Regions from separate parts of the Homo sapiens genome. Here regions 1, 2, 3 and 5 are each linked to region 4. The links are contacts of gene promoters, found by promoter capture Hi-C in blood cells and fetal thymus (Javierre and others, 2016). All regions are on one chromosome and are shown on one strand. The core of a region is centred on a gene start or on the middle of the fragment in contact, and the rest is flanking DNA. Distances in the headings are between cores, read along the strand shown. Region 1 has its middle 3.7 kb from the start of EXT2. Region 2 has its middle 18 kb from the start of LINC02696. Region 3 overlaps LINC02696 (long intergenic non-protein coding RNA 2696). Region 4 holds the start of CD82-AS1 (CD82 antisense RNA 1). Region 5 overlaps LOC105376652 (a long non-coding RNA gene).

Region 1 (2,700 bases), core at 182-2,681, 510 kb after region 4:
TACATTTCTAGGCATAGAAACCATGCAAGTGAGGGAGGTGGGAAAATATAGAAGATGTGAAATTAGAAGCTACATGATGCGAAAGTATCCAAGGATGACTTCAGGGAGGAGTGGGAAATAAATTATAAGCCAGGACCTGAAGTTTCTGAGAAGGCAGAAAAGCGTCTTAGTAGCTGGTGGTTGAAGGAGGAGAGGTTGTAGAAAGATACTGCTTTACTGAATTTGAAGTTACAGGGCAAAGCAAAGATTACACAGATACCCCCTTACCCAGTGAGTCAGGAAATATGAAAGTCAGGATTAGAAAGGGAATGGCTTTCGTGGAAAATAGTGTCATCAGGGGAAAGTGAGTTTCCAATTAGGAGAAAGAGCTGGTGTAGGGTTGAATCCCATATTTAGCACTTCCTCTAAATACAGTTGATTCTTGAACAACACAGGTTTAAACTTTGCAGATCCACTGCTGTGCAGATTTTTTTTCAACAAAAGTTACACCAAGTGTGCCTGCCTCTCCAGCTTCTCTTTCCACCTCTGCTACCTATTCTGCCTCTGCCACTCCTGAGACAGTGAGACCAACCCCCCTTCCTTCTCCTCCTTGGCCTACACAACATGAAGATGAGGAGGATGAAGATCGTTATGACTTCCACTTAATGAATAGTAAATATATTTTTCTTCCTCCTGACTTTCTTAATAACATTTTCTTTTCTCTTGCTTACTTTATTGTAAGAATACAGTATTTAATATATATAACATATAAAATATGTTTAATAGACTATTTACATTATCAGTAAGGTGTCCAGTCAACAGAAGGCTATTAGTAGTTAAGTTTTGGGGGAGTCAAAAGTTATACATCATTTTTCAACTGCTTAGGGGATTGGCACCCCAACCCCCACATTATTCAAGAGTCTACTGTAACAGAGATATCCAAGAATGGAAAAAGGCATATTCTCTAAAGAAAAGGGCTCCATAATATAATTGATCTGTGGGACCTTAGGTTGGCTCAGCTTAAAACAGCACTGGCAGGCAGCATGGTAGGCTAAAAAACACCTAACCAGGTGAAATATAAGGAATACCTTCTCAAGTGAATAGCTGAGCTTACGCACAAAAAAAAGGAAGGAAAACATCCAAAGTCAAAAATGAAGCTTAAATAATAGAAATGACATTGAAGCTACAACTATCTTGGGCATACAAGGCAGGAAGCTGATACAAAGAAACCCATAAAGCTAGGATCTTAAAGAATTACACCCAACAGGGAATACTGGAAAAAATTTGCTCAACATCCACCAAAGAAACTTACCTGTCTTGTCCAGGGAATGGAAAAAGAAGAGAGTCTCACTGATGATCTTTAACACGCATATCTTAGTCAGTTCGGGCTGCTATAACAAAAATACCACAGACTGGGTGGCTTAAACAACAGGAATTTATTTCTCCCAGCTCTAGAGGCTAGGAAGTCCAAGATCAAGGTGCTGGCCAATTTGGTTCCTGATGAGGGCTCTTTTTCTGGTTTGCAGAGGGTTACCTTCTTGCTATATTCTCATATGGTGGAGAAAAAGACCTTTCTGTGTCTCTTCTTGTCAGGGCACTAATCCTACTCATGAGGATTCCACCCTCAAGACCTAATTACATCCCAAAGGCCCCACCTCCAATAATCATCACACTGGGGATTAGGACTTCAACATATGAAGGAGGTGTGGGAGGGGATGAACATTCAGTTCATAGCAATCAAGCTTTATGACCATCTGGGGTTTGAATTTATACCACCAGCATGGTCTAGGAAGCTCCAAGCCAGGATAGTAACATACAGTATTCCCAGGTTGGTAGCACCCAAAGACATCCAACAGAAGGAAACATAAATCCCCTCTGGAGACCCACATCCTCAACACAAGCTACCTAGGATTCTGACAAATAAAACCCTGACAAATGTAAACTCACAATGCAGAACTATAAAGCATATGAGAAAACAAACCACCAGAAATCACAAACAGCAGAAATTTAACCCCCAAGAACTACATATAATTGAATTATGATACATAAATATAAAACAAGTATGTTTATACCACTCAAAGACTTAAAATGAAATGTAAAACATTACAAAGAAATAAGATGTTATATTTTTAAAAGACCAAGGAGACTGAAAATGTACTAAATATAAACATTGAAATTGAAAAGTCAATGCATAAGTTAAATAGTAGGTTAGAAACAACAACGATCGATCTGAAAGACAGGAAACGAATTAAATATAGGAAAGAGAAGTTAAGAGAGGGAGAGGAGAGATGAAGAAAATGGCACATATCTAAAAGGAGGGAATAGAGAAAAGGAGGTGAAGGTAATATCCAAGGAGATGATAGCTAAGAATTTTCCAAAATTGAGCAGAGATGATCACCTGCAATGAACTAACAATGAGACTAATAGCAGACTTCTCAACAACAAAAACCTAAAGCCAAAAAATCATAGTAAAAAGGCTGAGAGGGCAATAGTTAATGATGTATAATTGTATGCCCAATAACACCATCTTTGAAGAATAACAGGGAAGTAAAGATATCTTAGACAAATACAAATAGAAAGAGATTACCATCAGTAGATCCTTCCTAAAGGAACTTCTTAAGAATGTTAGGAAGGAAAACATTAAAACCAAAAGGAAGTACTGCAATGAAGTAGGGCTGGGAAACAATGAAACTGATAAACCTGTGGGTAAATCAAAACAAA
Region 2 (2,725 bases), core at 66-2,565, 730 kb before region 4:
AATGCAAATAACTTCTCTACTTCAATCTTCTAGGGTTTAACAAAACAATCCACAGCTTCCATGCATGCTAAAAGGGTGCTGCGAAATCTGGCCCAGTGACCCATTGAGGTCATCTTTGCTCACTCTCTTTTCACCATTCAATAAACCCGCTGGCCTTCTTTCTTATCTGTGACCAAGGCCAAGCTCATTTCTTTCTCGGGGCTCTTGCTCTTGCTGTTCCATTTGGAGGCATTGACCTGATCCCTCTCCGGGGGATTCTTCTTGGCACTTAGATTGGGGTTCAAATGTCTACCAGGCCTTCCTGGATATCTGACTCAATGCAGCACTACTGCAAGACCATTCTCTGGATGGCTGTGGACCGACCCAGTTCTCCCTCTTTTCTGTCATAGCTCCCAAGAATCGCTGTGTAATGTGCTGGAAATGCAACATCTGGAATAGGGCGGGACTGGTCTGAGCAGGCCAGGCTCTGCTTCAGTCACTATTAGAAACAAGGTGTCCTTCAATGCGTTGACCCAGCAAGTCCTGTACCCCGTGGTCTAAAACCCAGGGCTGGTTGCCTTCAGGGCTCCGCAGCTGTGGTGCAAGTGGGGCATGTGCAGACAAGACTCCATCTGGGCAGCTTTCCTGAGGCTTGGAGACTGATACTCATGAATTCTAGGCTGCTGCTGTCCCTTGCTGACTATCTATAAGTAATAACTTGTGTATTTCCTCATGTAACTTGTGTATTTCAGTGTTCTGTTTCACAGAACTTGGGCAAGTAGTGAACGTGCAACCCAAGATCAAGTGGGTTGAAGTGGTAACTAGCGCACAGTGAGTCTGTTTCATAACTACCCCTTCCCACTGCCCAGCGCTCTGTCACTTTACCCCTTTTTATACTCAATATAAAATTGATACTCAGCATTTTATACTCAATATAAAATACTTTGCTGGAATATTGAATATAAAGTATAGTTTATACTTAATACTCCAGCAAAGCATTCGCTCTATTGAAAATAAATAGGTGGCTGGGCACCACAGCTCACACCTGTAATACCAGCACTTTGGGAGGCCAAGGCTAAAGAATCACTTGAGGCTAGGAGTTTGAGACCAGCCTGGGCAACAGAACAAGACCCCATCTCTACACAATATAAAATAAAATAAGATAAAATAAAATAAAATAAAAGTTATCCAAGTGTGGTGGCACGTACCTACAGGTAGTCCTAGCTGATTGGGAGGCTGAGGGAGGAGGATGGCTTGAGCCCAGGAGTTCAAGGCTATGAGTGAACTATATGATGATGCCATTCCCTGTACTCCAGCCTGGGTGAAGGAGTGAGACCCTGTCTCAAAAAAAAAAAAAAAAAAAAAAAGAAAAGAAAGAAAAGAATTAGGCAATTGACGGCCGTCTGTAATCCCAGCACTTTGGGAGGCCAAGGCGGGCAGATCACGAGGTCAGGAGATCAAGACCATCCTGGCTAACACGGTGAAACCCTGTCTCTACTAAAAAAAATACAAAAAATTAGCCAGGCGTGTTGGCGGGCACCTGTAGTCCCAGCTACTCAGGAGGCTGAGGCAGGAGAATGGCATGAACCCGGGAGGCGGAGCTTGTAGTGAGCCGAGATAGCGCCACTGCACTACAGCCTGGGCGGCAGAGCGAGACTCTGTCTCAAAAAAAAAAAAAAAAAAAAGAAATTAGGCAATTGACTTTTGCATATGATTATCGCCCATCTCCCCAACTGGAAGGCAACTGTCTGTCTGTCCGTACAACCCAGAGAGTGTCTGCCCCCCCCCAGCAAGTGTTCCAACAATATTTGGTGAAGAAATTCTTGAATACATTTAGAAAAAGCCAGGACTTTGTTCTTGAGAAGAAAACATGTTTTTTAAGGTAAAAAAGGTAGTCTGGGGGACTGACAGCATAGATTTTATACCACACCATAGAGTAGGAAAGAATATTCAATAGTAAATGAATAAAGTTCCTACTCAAAAGGAGACAAAAGTTCAGTTTTGGGAGGTGGAAGGAGGATCGAAGGGTTGGAACTAGAACCCACAGATGCCAGGGACCTGTGAGAAAGCCTGGGATGCGGGTGGGTGGGAGACAGTGAAGCAGAGGAGACCTGCGCCTCTCTGCCCAGGAAAAGCTGTGGTGGACACTGTGCCACCACACTGTGCCAGGTGAGGACTCCTGTGATGGACCTGTTAATGAGAGGGCCTCAAACACTCACATCCCCAAATCCTCAAGGAGGGATAGAAATGGCAGAAAGCTGGTGGGTGAACCTGGAGAGGCCTAGCAATGGGACGCAGGGGGTGCAGACGCTTAGGTACCTGATGAGGGAAGACAGAGTGGCAGTGGCTGTGACAGCAGTGAATGCAGATGATATCAGACATCAATACACAGGCCTGGCAAATTACATCAACCTCGGATGCTCCGTAGGAGGGAACTAGATGAGGGGAAGGGGAGTGCCCCTCACACCACCAATGCCTGGAGAGGACAGAGGGGAAGGAGCCTTAATTGACAGAGCTTGAGAGCACCTGACAGTGACAGTTTACCTTGAGTTGGCAGGATTGAGTTTTGCACTCCCAGGGGAGAGTAATGTGCGCGTTCACTTCCTTTTGAAAGAAATTGATGAACTCTAACACCTATGCTTGCTAAATAAGAGCAGATGTACCATCTCTTTGTAGAGCATTCAAATAATACAGAATGGTAGCTAATATATAGTGAGGATTTGCCACGTGCCAGGAACTGATCTAA
Region 3 (2,700 bases), core at 135-2,634, 750 kb before region 4:
AGATGTCTAGGACATATCTGTAGAGTTGTTCTATATCATTTCCATGTTCCTTCCCAGACCCTCTGCCCTCCATCCCAAATGCTTTTCTTGCCCCTCTCCACTGTGTCTTTGCCCACATCTTGTGCTTCAGGCTCCACTCTATGTAGCATTTGACCCCCTGGCCTTTACCAGCCTTCCTGTTTCAATGTACCTGAGATGAGATGGCAGCAGCTTTGGGGAAGCAGAATCCATTCGTACATTCATTCATTCATTCATTCATATGTCACAGACTATTTGAAGTTCTGGGGATACAGTCATACAATATAGACAAGATGTTTATTTTCAGGGAGCTTACATATTAATGGGAGGAGACAGTCAATAAACAAAGGAAGATACAAGAAAATAGCAGTAATGATGAGTGTTGTGGTGAAACTGAATCAGGATGACGTGACAGAGAGTAACAAGGGGGTACATGAGTTTGGGTGGTCAAGGGAGGACTTATTTGAAGAGGTCACATTGAAATTCAGCTCTAAACAAGAGAGGGCCAGCTCTGCAATAACTGGGTGAAGAGGGTTCCAGCAAAGGGAACAGCTAGTGCAAGGACCCTAAGGCAGGATAAAACTTGGCAGGTTGAAGAAAGAAAGATAGTATGTCTGGATTATAGTGAGTGAAGGGGTAGGGAGTGGTACCAGATTGAGTCCAGATCACATAGGGCACAGTAATTAGTGGGGGAAGACAATAATTCTAAACACAAAAGTGATAGAATCTAACTTACATTTTAAACAAATATTTTGGCTGCTACTGTGTGGTGAATGGACTGGGATGGTGAAAATGGGTCAGAAGATTAGAAGCAGGGAAGTTAAATGAAAAGGATCTTGCAGTTAACCAGGTAAAGGATGATGATGCCTGGGTTAGGGTGGTGGAGATAAGAACAGTGAATGGATTTAGGATATATTTTAGAATAAAAGCGGATCGAATTTGTTGATGGGTGAGCTGTGGGGAATGAAAGAGGGAATCAAGATTGTTCCCAGGTTTTTGCTTTGAGTGCACTAATGATGGCACCATTAGTTGACATAAGGAGCCCTGGGAGAGGAAGAGATTGGGGGCAGGAAAGGAAGAGTTTGACTTAGACATGTTAATTTGAGATATTTATTAATGAACCCACTGAAGCCCCCATCTCATACTTTATATCTATCACTATACCAAGAACTATGAGATCCAAGACCTTGCCTTCCTTTTCAATTCCTTGTTAAGCAGGAATAAAGTGAAAAATTACTGAATAAAATATTCAGTTTTTTTGCAAAACACTCTTACGTTCAGAGGTTTGGTAGCAGAGCCATATCTTCCCAGGCAGGCATAAGTAGCCAATCAATCTCCATGTCATACCAAGCAACGGTCCAAGGGGCAAACTAATTAAAAATTTAATCCCATGATTTTCATCTTAATCTCTTTTTCCCATTAGCTTTGATCAATGCCTACAACTACAATTTAACCAAACTTTTCATTTAGATAAATGACTCAGTGGGGTACCTATTTAGTCCGTTTGTTATGAACCAATGGATAACTAAAATGTATATGCTAATTACTAAAGACCACACACTAATTTTCAAAGCATTTTATTAGCACAAAAGCTGTGTTCCTGTTATCAAATGAAATGCGCTTCCTATGTTACACTCAGTAGTTGTTCAAACCAGTTTCTCTTGACTTCAGTAGCCAAATTGCAGCATGCTGTGTAGGTACACAGTGCACTTGAGAAATGTCTGCACATCCCAACCCTGCACTATATCACAAGCAGTAGTGAAAGGTGTAGCAAATAAGAAGATTCCATGAACTTCTCAGCTACCTGAGACTTCTGCTGCACCCTGAAAAAAAAAATCAGGCTAGAAACCACATAAAACAACTAAACCAAACTGAATGCAGGGGCTGCTATGAGGAAGAATGAACTTTGCAGCCTGTTCCAAATGCTAAGGTGAAGGAGGTCCTTCCTGGCTCTGCTCACTAGGTGTGCAAGTCAGGAGATATTCATTTCGTGATCATCCTTTCCTATCACCTGTGGTGAAATTTCTACTGCTTTCAAGTCTTCCAGCCCCTATTTGAATGCCAAAATTCTTAAGTTCCTTCAAGTAAAAGAGATCTTCATTTTAAAAATAAAAGTCAATGGCTCTGGTCTCCTGTAGCCTTTTCAGCCCCTGTAACAGTGCTTTCTCACTTAGATTTTCACTGTCACTTCAATAAAGGGGTGAGAAGAGAGAACTGGCCTGCGATCAATGAAAACTATTCAGTAAAAACTCTTCATGCCAGACATGGCCCCAGAAACAGGAGGAAAGTTTACCAGACAGCAGGAGTGGGTGGTGGCTGGGTCCAGTGGAATGGGTAAACCTAAAAGGGGACGAAAATGGTTTTCAGGCTGCTGTGGCCCTCTCTACACACAAATTTTGTGGCCATGAAGTCCTGGCTACTAAGCATCATTGTCTTTGCGCAACCGCTGCACCTGCCACTTCCCTCAACCCATTAATAATCGGGTTCCTGGGAGGATTTTCATCCCCAATTTACTGGACATGCCTCCGAGCCACCTCCCCGCTCCGGCCCTCCCTCTCGTTGGTCGCCTTCAGACTCCCCCACACGCGGGACGGCCCCTCCCCCCACCCTCCTCACCGGCTAGCCGCGGCCAGCAGAGCCTTCGAGCGGCTCTGTCAGGCTGCCCTGGAGCGTAAGGAAGAA
Region 4 (2,784 bases), core at 74-2,573:
TTACGTGATAACTGTGACTCACAATTAACTGGCTCACCCAACAGCCATTCTTGGCTCCTTTCTCTCTTGTGCCTCTGTCTTTAGAGTCTGAAAGTTGGATACTCACATTCTCAGCCTCTTTTGCAACCAGGGGTGGCTTTGTAACCCAGTCTGGGGAAGTCTGTTGGAGGACTTTTTTTTTTTTTTTTTTTTGAGACAGGGTCTCACTCTGTTGCCCCAAGCTCTGTTTCATGGCTCCCTGTAGCCTCAACCTCCTGGCCTCAAGGATCCTCCTGCCTCAGCCTCCTGAGTAGCTGGGACCACAGGTGAACACCACCATGGCTAGCATTTTTAAAAATTTGTTTGTAGAAATGGGGTCTCACCATGTTGCCCAGGCTAGTCTCAGAGCAATCCTCCCACCTCTGCCTCCCTAAGTATTGGGATTACAGTCATGAGCCACTGCGCCTTTTCTGATAAAAGGGATGGCCATGTCTGGCACTGCCCACTTCCCCATCTTCAGGCCACAGCGGCACAGACATCGTGCCTGGTGCTGTGGCAGCCATCTTGGAACCACGAGGTAAGTGTCATAATGCAGGAAAGCCATCCCAGCGAGGATGCTCAACAGCCAGAACCAGGGCCTCTGAGCTTCCAAACCAGACTTCCGGTCAAGTCAACCACAGATGTCCTTCAACTTTAAGCCGCTGTAAGTCTGATTTTCTGTTTCTGAAAGCTGAACATCTCCCCTCGGACACAAGACTGATGTTTTTATTAACGGTCTCCTTCTAAACCTCATTTGTGGGTGAGTGGCATGGATTTAATAGTTGCTAAAGTATCTTAATAATAACAAGAATAACATTTATTGAGTACTTATGGTGCCATGCGCTATGTGTTTCACTCAGATAATCTCGAATAATCTTTGCAACCACTCTGAGAGTTCAGTTTTCTTATTGTTTCCATTTTACAGATGGTGGAACAGGCACATAGAGGCAAGCAGCTTGCCCAAGGCCACACAGCTAGAAAGCAGGGGGGTCAGGCTAAGATCCAGGCCCAGCGGGGACTGCCCACACCTGCCGCCTTCTCTTCTAACGCTCCCCCATTTGATCACAAGGAATAGTGTCCAGGAGGCCGTCCCTGACACCTACTGGATCTGTCTGTGACAACTGGGGGGGTTCCTTGTCCATCCCCCACACTCAGTCAATCACCCCCATGGTTGGTCCAGCCCAGTGAAGAGGGAGGGAGAGAGGGGCTTACCTTGCCCATGTTGAAGTAGAAGAGGGCCCCGGCCGTCACCTGGGCAATGAGGATCAGGAGCAGGAAAGCAAAGTACTGGGGACACAGAGCAGGCACAAAGTCAGCTGAGGGTCCCCGACCAGGTGCACCCAGCCTGCGTGCCCCGAGAGATGCTCTCCACCCGATGTTACGGCCAGCGCCGCGGTCAGGCTGCACTCGGCTGGATGAGAGGAAATGGGCAGGCAGCTGCGGAGGGATCCGTACTCACCAGCCCCAGCAGGCAGCGGACCTCGTTGACGGCGCCGATGCAGCCCAGGAAGCCCATGAGCATAGTGACTGCCCCCACGCCGATGAAGACATAGGCCCCCATCCTAAGCGAGCTGGAGGAGGTTTCTAGGGGGAAGAAGAAGTACAAAATCAGTGGGCACAGCAGGTATAAACACCTGGCCTAACCGTCCAGGTCTTCTTCCGGATCCCCTCTTTGGAGCCAGGGTGTTGGGGTCAGCTGCATTCCCCTGCTGGCTTCTCACTGCCCAACAGGGAACCAGGTCACCCCCATCCCCACTTGTGTCCCTCCCCCAGTAAAATTGCAATCCACACCCTCATCCAGCCTAAGCCCCTTCCCGGCTTTATTTTTTACTTCGTAAGGCTTCTCAGGATTGAATAGACTACATTTCACTGATTCTTCTTGCTCATTGTCTGCTCTCCCCCTCCACCAAGGACCTGAGGTGCATGAGGGCAGAAGCTTCACTTTATTCCTGGGGAACCCCCAGCTCGAACAGCGCCTCTCGCAGTGAGGTGCTGTGCACAGTGAATATCTGCGGAATTGACAGACAAGAGGCTGGCTGGTTCTCCAGGGGCCACTGACATTAAGATTCCAAGCTGATTTTTAACCCGCCTTCCTTCTTGTCCATATAATAACAAACACCAGCCTTTCTTGCCCACTCACTGTGCCTCATGGGCTTTCCACACGCCGTCTCCAACTCTGACATCACCCTGCCTGGCAGGCACTAGCATGGCCATTTCACAGAAGAAAAAAATGAGGCTCAGAAAGGCGAACAGGCAAGGGCCTGAGCTGGAATTTGAAAATATGCAAATCTCCAGTGCCACACTCTTTCCACTGATGCACGGGGCACATGTATTGCTACAGGTGTGCTGCATGTTCATTCGGCCAAGAAATGTTTACTGGGTGCCCACTTCATGCCAGGCACTGTGCCAGTTGCTGGGGATGCAGAAGAGTGACTAACAAGGTCTGACATTTGGGGGTGGGGAGTGGAGACAAAAAGTACACAATACAGGTTTTCTGGTTGTGTTGGGCGCCATGAAGATACCAAAGCTGGCTAACTGCAGAGAACTGCTGGGCTGGGAGAGGGTCAGAATGGGTCGACGAAGGCCAGCCTGAGCCAGTGACATTTGAGCCAAGACATGAATGAAGAAGTCAGCCAAGCAAAGATCTGTAAGAAAAGCATTCCAGGCAGGGAACACAGCAGGTGCAAAGGCCTGAGGAAGGAGGAGCTTGGTTATTTGAAGATTGGAAAGAAGGTGAGAGAACGGACCAGTGAGAGCAAGAAAGAA
Region 5 (2,867 bases), core at 13-2,512, 530 kb before region 4:
AAGAGTATCTCATGCAAATAATTACTTTGTGCCTTCCTTTTAAAAAATATTTATGAATCTTGGTTAATTTTCTTATATTATTGCATTAGCTAGAAGCTCCAAAACAATGATTAGGAATGGAGACAGCAAGCATTCTTGTTTGCTAAGGCAGGTTTTCTCCTGTTTTCATGATGTTTCCTGCAGCCTTCTGATAATCTCATTACATTCTAGAAATGTCCTTTTATTCCTATTTTAGTAGGAGAGAGAGAGAGAGAGAGAGAGTATAATTAAAATTGGATTCTTCTTTTTAGAGATGGGGTCTCACTATGTTGCCCAGGCTGGGCTCAAACTACCCTCCTGCCTCAGCCTCCCTAGTAGCTGGGTCTACAACTGTGTGCCACTGTGCCCAGCTAAAATGGAATTTTTACCAATGCCTTTTTTTGTATCTATCAGTATCAGCACCTATTTTTCCATATTAACCTCTAGATGTAATGATTATTGCTCTGCAATAATTTGCAAACATGGAAAACATTATAGGATTTGATAATTATTAAGTCATCTTTGAATTTCTAGGATAAAATATGTCAAGTTCTTCCTTAATATGCTGCTGCATCAAATTGCTATTATACATTTTTTAAAAATTAAAAAAAATGTGTGGCTAATTATAATGTTGAAATACTATTCTTTTTTTTTTTTTTTTTTTTTTTTTCGTGAGACAGGGTCTCACTCTGTTGCTCAGGCTGGAGTGCAGTGGTGCAATCTCAGCTCACTGCAGCCTCGACCTCCCAGGCTCAAGCGATTCTCCCACCTCAGCCTCCCAAGTAGCTGGGACTACAGGCACGTGCCACGACATCCAGCTAATTTTTGTATTTTTTGTAGAGACAGGGTTTTGCTGTGTTGCCCAGGCTGGTCTCAATCTCCTGAGTCAAGCGATCTGCCCACCTCAGCCTCCCAAAGTGCTGGAATTACAGGCTTGTGCCTCCACACCTGTCTGCTATTCTAAGTTTTTGTGTGAGTGGGCTTTGTTAGTTTTGAACTCAAGTTTATACTAGTCTCTATAACTTTTTTTGTAACTGCCTGAGATTATTTTGTCGGGGAGTACGCTTATGAGTCTCAAGGAACATGATCGTAAGACTAAAGTTTTCTTCTATATCTCCTGCATTAACCCTATTTCAGCATGAGCTATTTGGTCCGAGTATTCAGTTCAGGCCACTGACTCACTCTCCTTGCATGTCCAGAAAATTTTCACTGTCTCTTCCCATTTTTAAACAAAGGACTCGCCTAATCACCATTGGTAGCTGATGTGAGCTTTCCCAGCAATTGTGTAGGTGAGTCATTGATTTCCCATGTGTGCCTTGCCCTCTGGGGGTGTATAGAGATGTAGGGTAGTCTTAGGTGAGCTTCACCCAGCTGCAGAGGGCAAAGGCTGGCAGAGAGATTGCCCTTCAGGGTTCCTGTGCCAGGAAGCAGATTGGCATTTGGGGGCCCATCTCAAACAGTGCTGATGGCTGTGGCAGTGCTTAGCTGGCAAAATCCATTTGGTTTAGCCTGCTCTCTGCATCAAATGAGACCCGTGAGCTGGGGTGTATGTTGAGGCAAGCTGCTCTGTTTGGAGGATCCAAATTTGCCATTCTTGAGTTACTCCTCCCTAACTGTATGTCTAGCCTCCACTATGTGCCCGTTGGGGATCTGTGTCTAGTTAGTACTATCATTAGTGCTGCACATGCCAGTAGAAGAAGGGAAGGAGTTACCAAGGGAGAGGATTCCACTGCTGTGCTGAGCTCCACTGGCCAGTGCCCGAAACTCAGCGAACACTGGTTTGAGCAAAAAGAATAACGTGTTGGCTCCTATAACTAAAAAAATCTGGGTCAGGCTTCAGGCATGGCTGGATCAAGCTGTTAAAACAATATCATCAGAAATATGTCTTTATCCATCTTCCCACCTATGAAGAAAAAGTTATGGCCAGAAAGTTATGAGAATTGGGGAAAGCAAGTCATCTTGGGAACCAAGAGAGCAGAGCATTCAGAAAGAGAAAGTGGACAATAGGGTTAAATGCAACAGGGAGGTCCAGTAAGATAAGAACTTAAGGATTTCCTCAGATTTCATGATAGGAGTCACTTATGTCCTTAACAAGAACAATTTTAGTGGTATTACCCCATGGAAGTGGTATAGCAGATTGGAATGAGTTGAGGAGAAAATGAGAGGTAAGGAATTAGAAAAAGAAAGCACAGATTATCTTTTTGAGCTATTTGGATGAAAAGTGTTAGAAAGAGAAGGCAGAGTTAAATATTTTTATTGTTTAAAGGTTGGGAGAAAATTGGATGTGTTTCCAGCTTATGGGAATGCAGCTGGCAGAGAAGGCAAGGTTAACAGCAGAGAGGTAACACCAGAAAGAGGACTTTTACTTTAATTTGGGGATGGGGATGGGGATGGGGTATGTGTGGCACATTCTTAAGCAGGGTGTTGCTCCTCTTTCCACAGCAAGATGGCTGAGCCATCAGTATTTTCCTGGGTTTTGCTCAATCTTTGCTGTCCCTGGGCTGGCTTTAGGAATTGGAGAAGTATACTCATCAGAGGATTTCTAAAGCGCCAATCACTATCTTTGGGTCTTCTCCCTAGGTAGCTGGGTGACCTTGAGTAAGCTGCTGTCATTCTGGGTTTCCTGTAAGAGGTTGACTTCGATGTCCTTAGAGGTCCCTTCCATCCAGCATCACTTTGAAGTCAGACTTTGAGTAGCTCAGAGGCAGATTGTGAAAGGATGGAGGAACAGAATGGAAACAGAAGTAGAAAGGAAATGACTGTGGCTTCATAAGCATTACTCTACCTTTCAGGAACATGTCTTTTCAATTTGCAAAGTGCTGGGGATGTGCTTAATGATCTGCAAGCTC

Evidence for each region. The method cuts DNA at HindIII sites, captures the fragments that hold promoters and counts their contacts. A CHiCAGO score of 5 or more calls a contact.
Region 1: a contact is called between a fragment that was not itself captured here and the fragment with the promoter of CD82-AS1 in region 4, in 3 of 17 cell types (endothelial precursors, naive CD8 T cells and total CD8 T cells). The highest score is 6.3, in endothelial precursors.
Region 2: a fragment that was not itself captured here is called in contact with the fragment with the promoter of CD82-AS1 in region 4 in 6 of 17 cell types (total CD8 T cells, naive CD8 T cells, naive CD4 T cells and 3 more); the score reaches 8.2 in total CD8 T cells.
Region 3: a contact is called between a fragment that was not itself captured here and the fragment with the promoter of CD82-AS1 in region 4, in 5 of 17 cell types (total CD8 T cells, naive CD8 T cells, total CD4 T cells and 2 more). The highest score is 6.9, in total CD8 T cells.
Region 5: a fragment that was not itself captured here is called in contact with the fragment with the promoter of CD82-AS1 in region 4 in 1 of 17 cell types (neutrophils); the score reaches 5.9 in neutrophils.

The regions. Positions count from the first base shown.
Region 1 is chr11:44,090,659-44,093,358 of GRCh38, reverse strand. No RefSeq gene overlaps it. Among named protein-coding and RNA genes, the nearest start is that of EXT2, 3.7 kb to the left of the region's middle. The HindIII fragment of the contact is 585 bases long and covers 1,139-1,723 here.
Region 2 is chr11:45,335,944-45,338,668 of GRCh38, reverse strand. No RefSeq gene overlaps it. Among named protein-coding and RNA genes, the nearest start is that of LINC02696, 18 kb to the left of the region's middle. The HindIII fragment of the contact is 3,103 bases long and covers 1-2,725 here.
Region 3 is chr11:45,355,537-45,358,236 of GRCh38, reverse strand. It overlaps LINC02696 (long intergenic non-protein coding RNA 2696), which reads right to left. Exons shown (of 2, transcript NR_120558.1): 1 at 2,635-2,700; 2 at 1,580-1,841. Among named protein-coding and RNA genes, the nearest start is that of LINC02696, 1.5 kb to the right of the region's middle. The HindIII fragment of the contact is 6,359 bases long and covers 1-2,700 here.
Region 4 is chr11:44,603,876-44,606,659 of GRCh38, reverse strand. CD82-AS1 (CD82 antisense RNA 1) reads left to right here and starts at 1,323. Exons shown (of 2, transcript NR_182290.1): 1 at 1,323-1,642; 2 at 1,930-2,152. It overlaps CD82 (CD82 molecule), which reads right to left. Exons shown (of 10, transcript NM_002231.4): 5 at 1,478-1,602; 6 at 1,231-1,305. The HindIII fragment of the contact is 7,514 bases long and covers 1-1,956 here.
Region 5 is chr11:45,132,523-45,135,389 of GRCh38, reverse strand. The region is part of intron 3 of LOC105376652 (a long non-coding RNA gene); the gene reads left to right. It also overlaps a transcript of PRDM11 not described here. Among named protein-coding and RNA genes, the nearest start is that of PRDM11, 13 kb to the left of the region's middle. The HindIII fragment of the contact is 7,917 bases long and covers 1-2,867 here.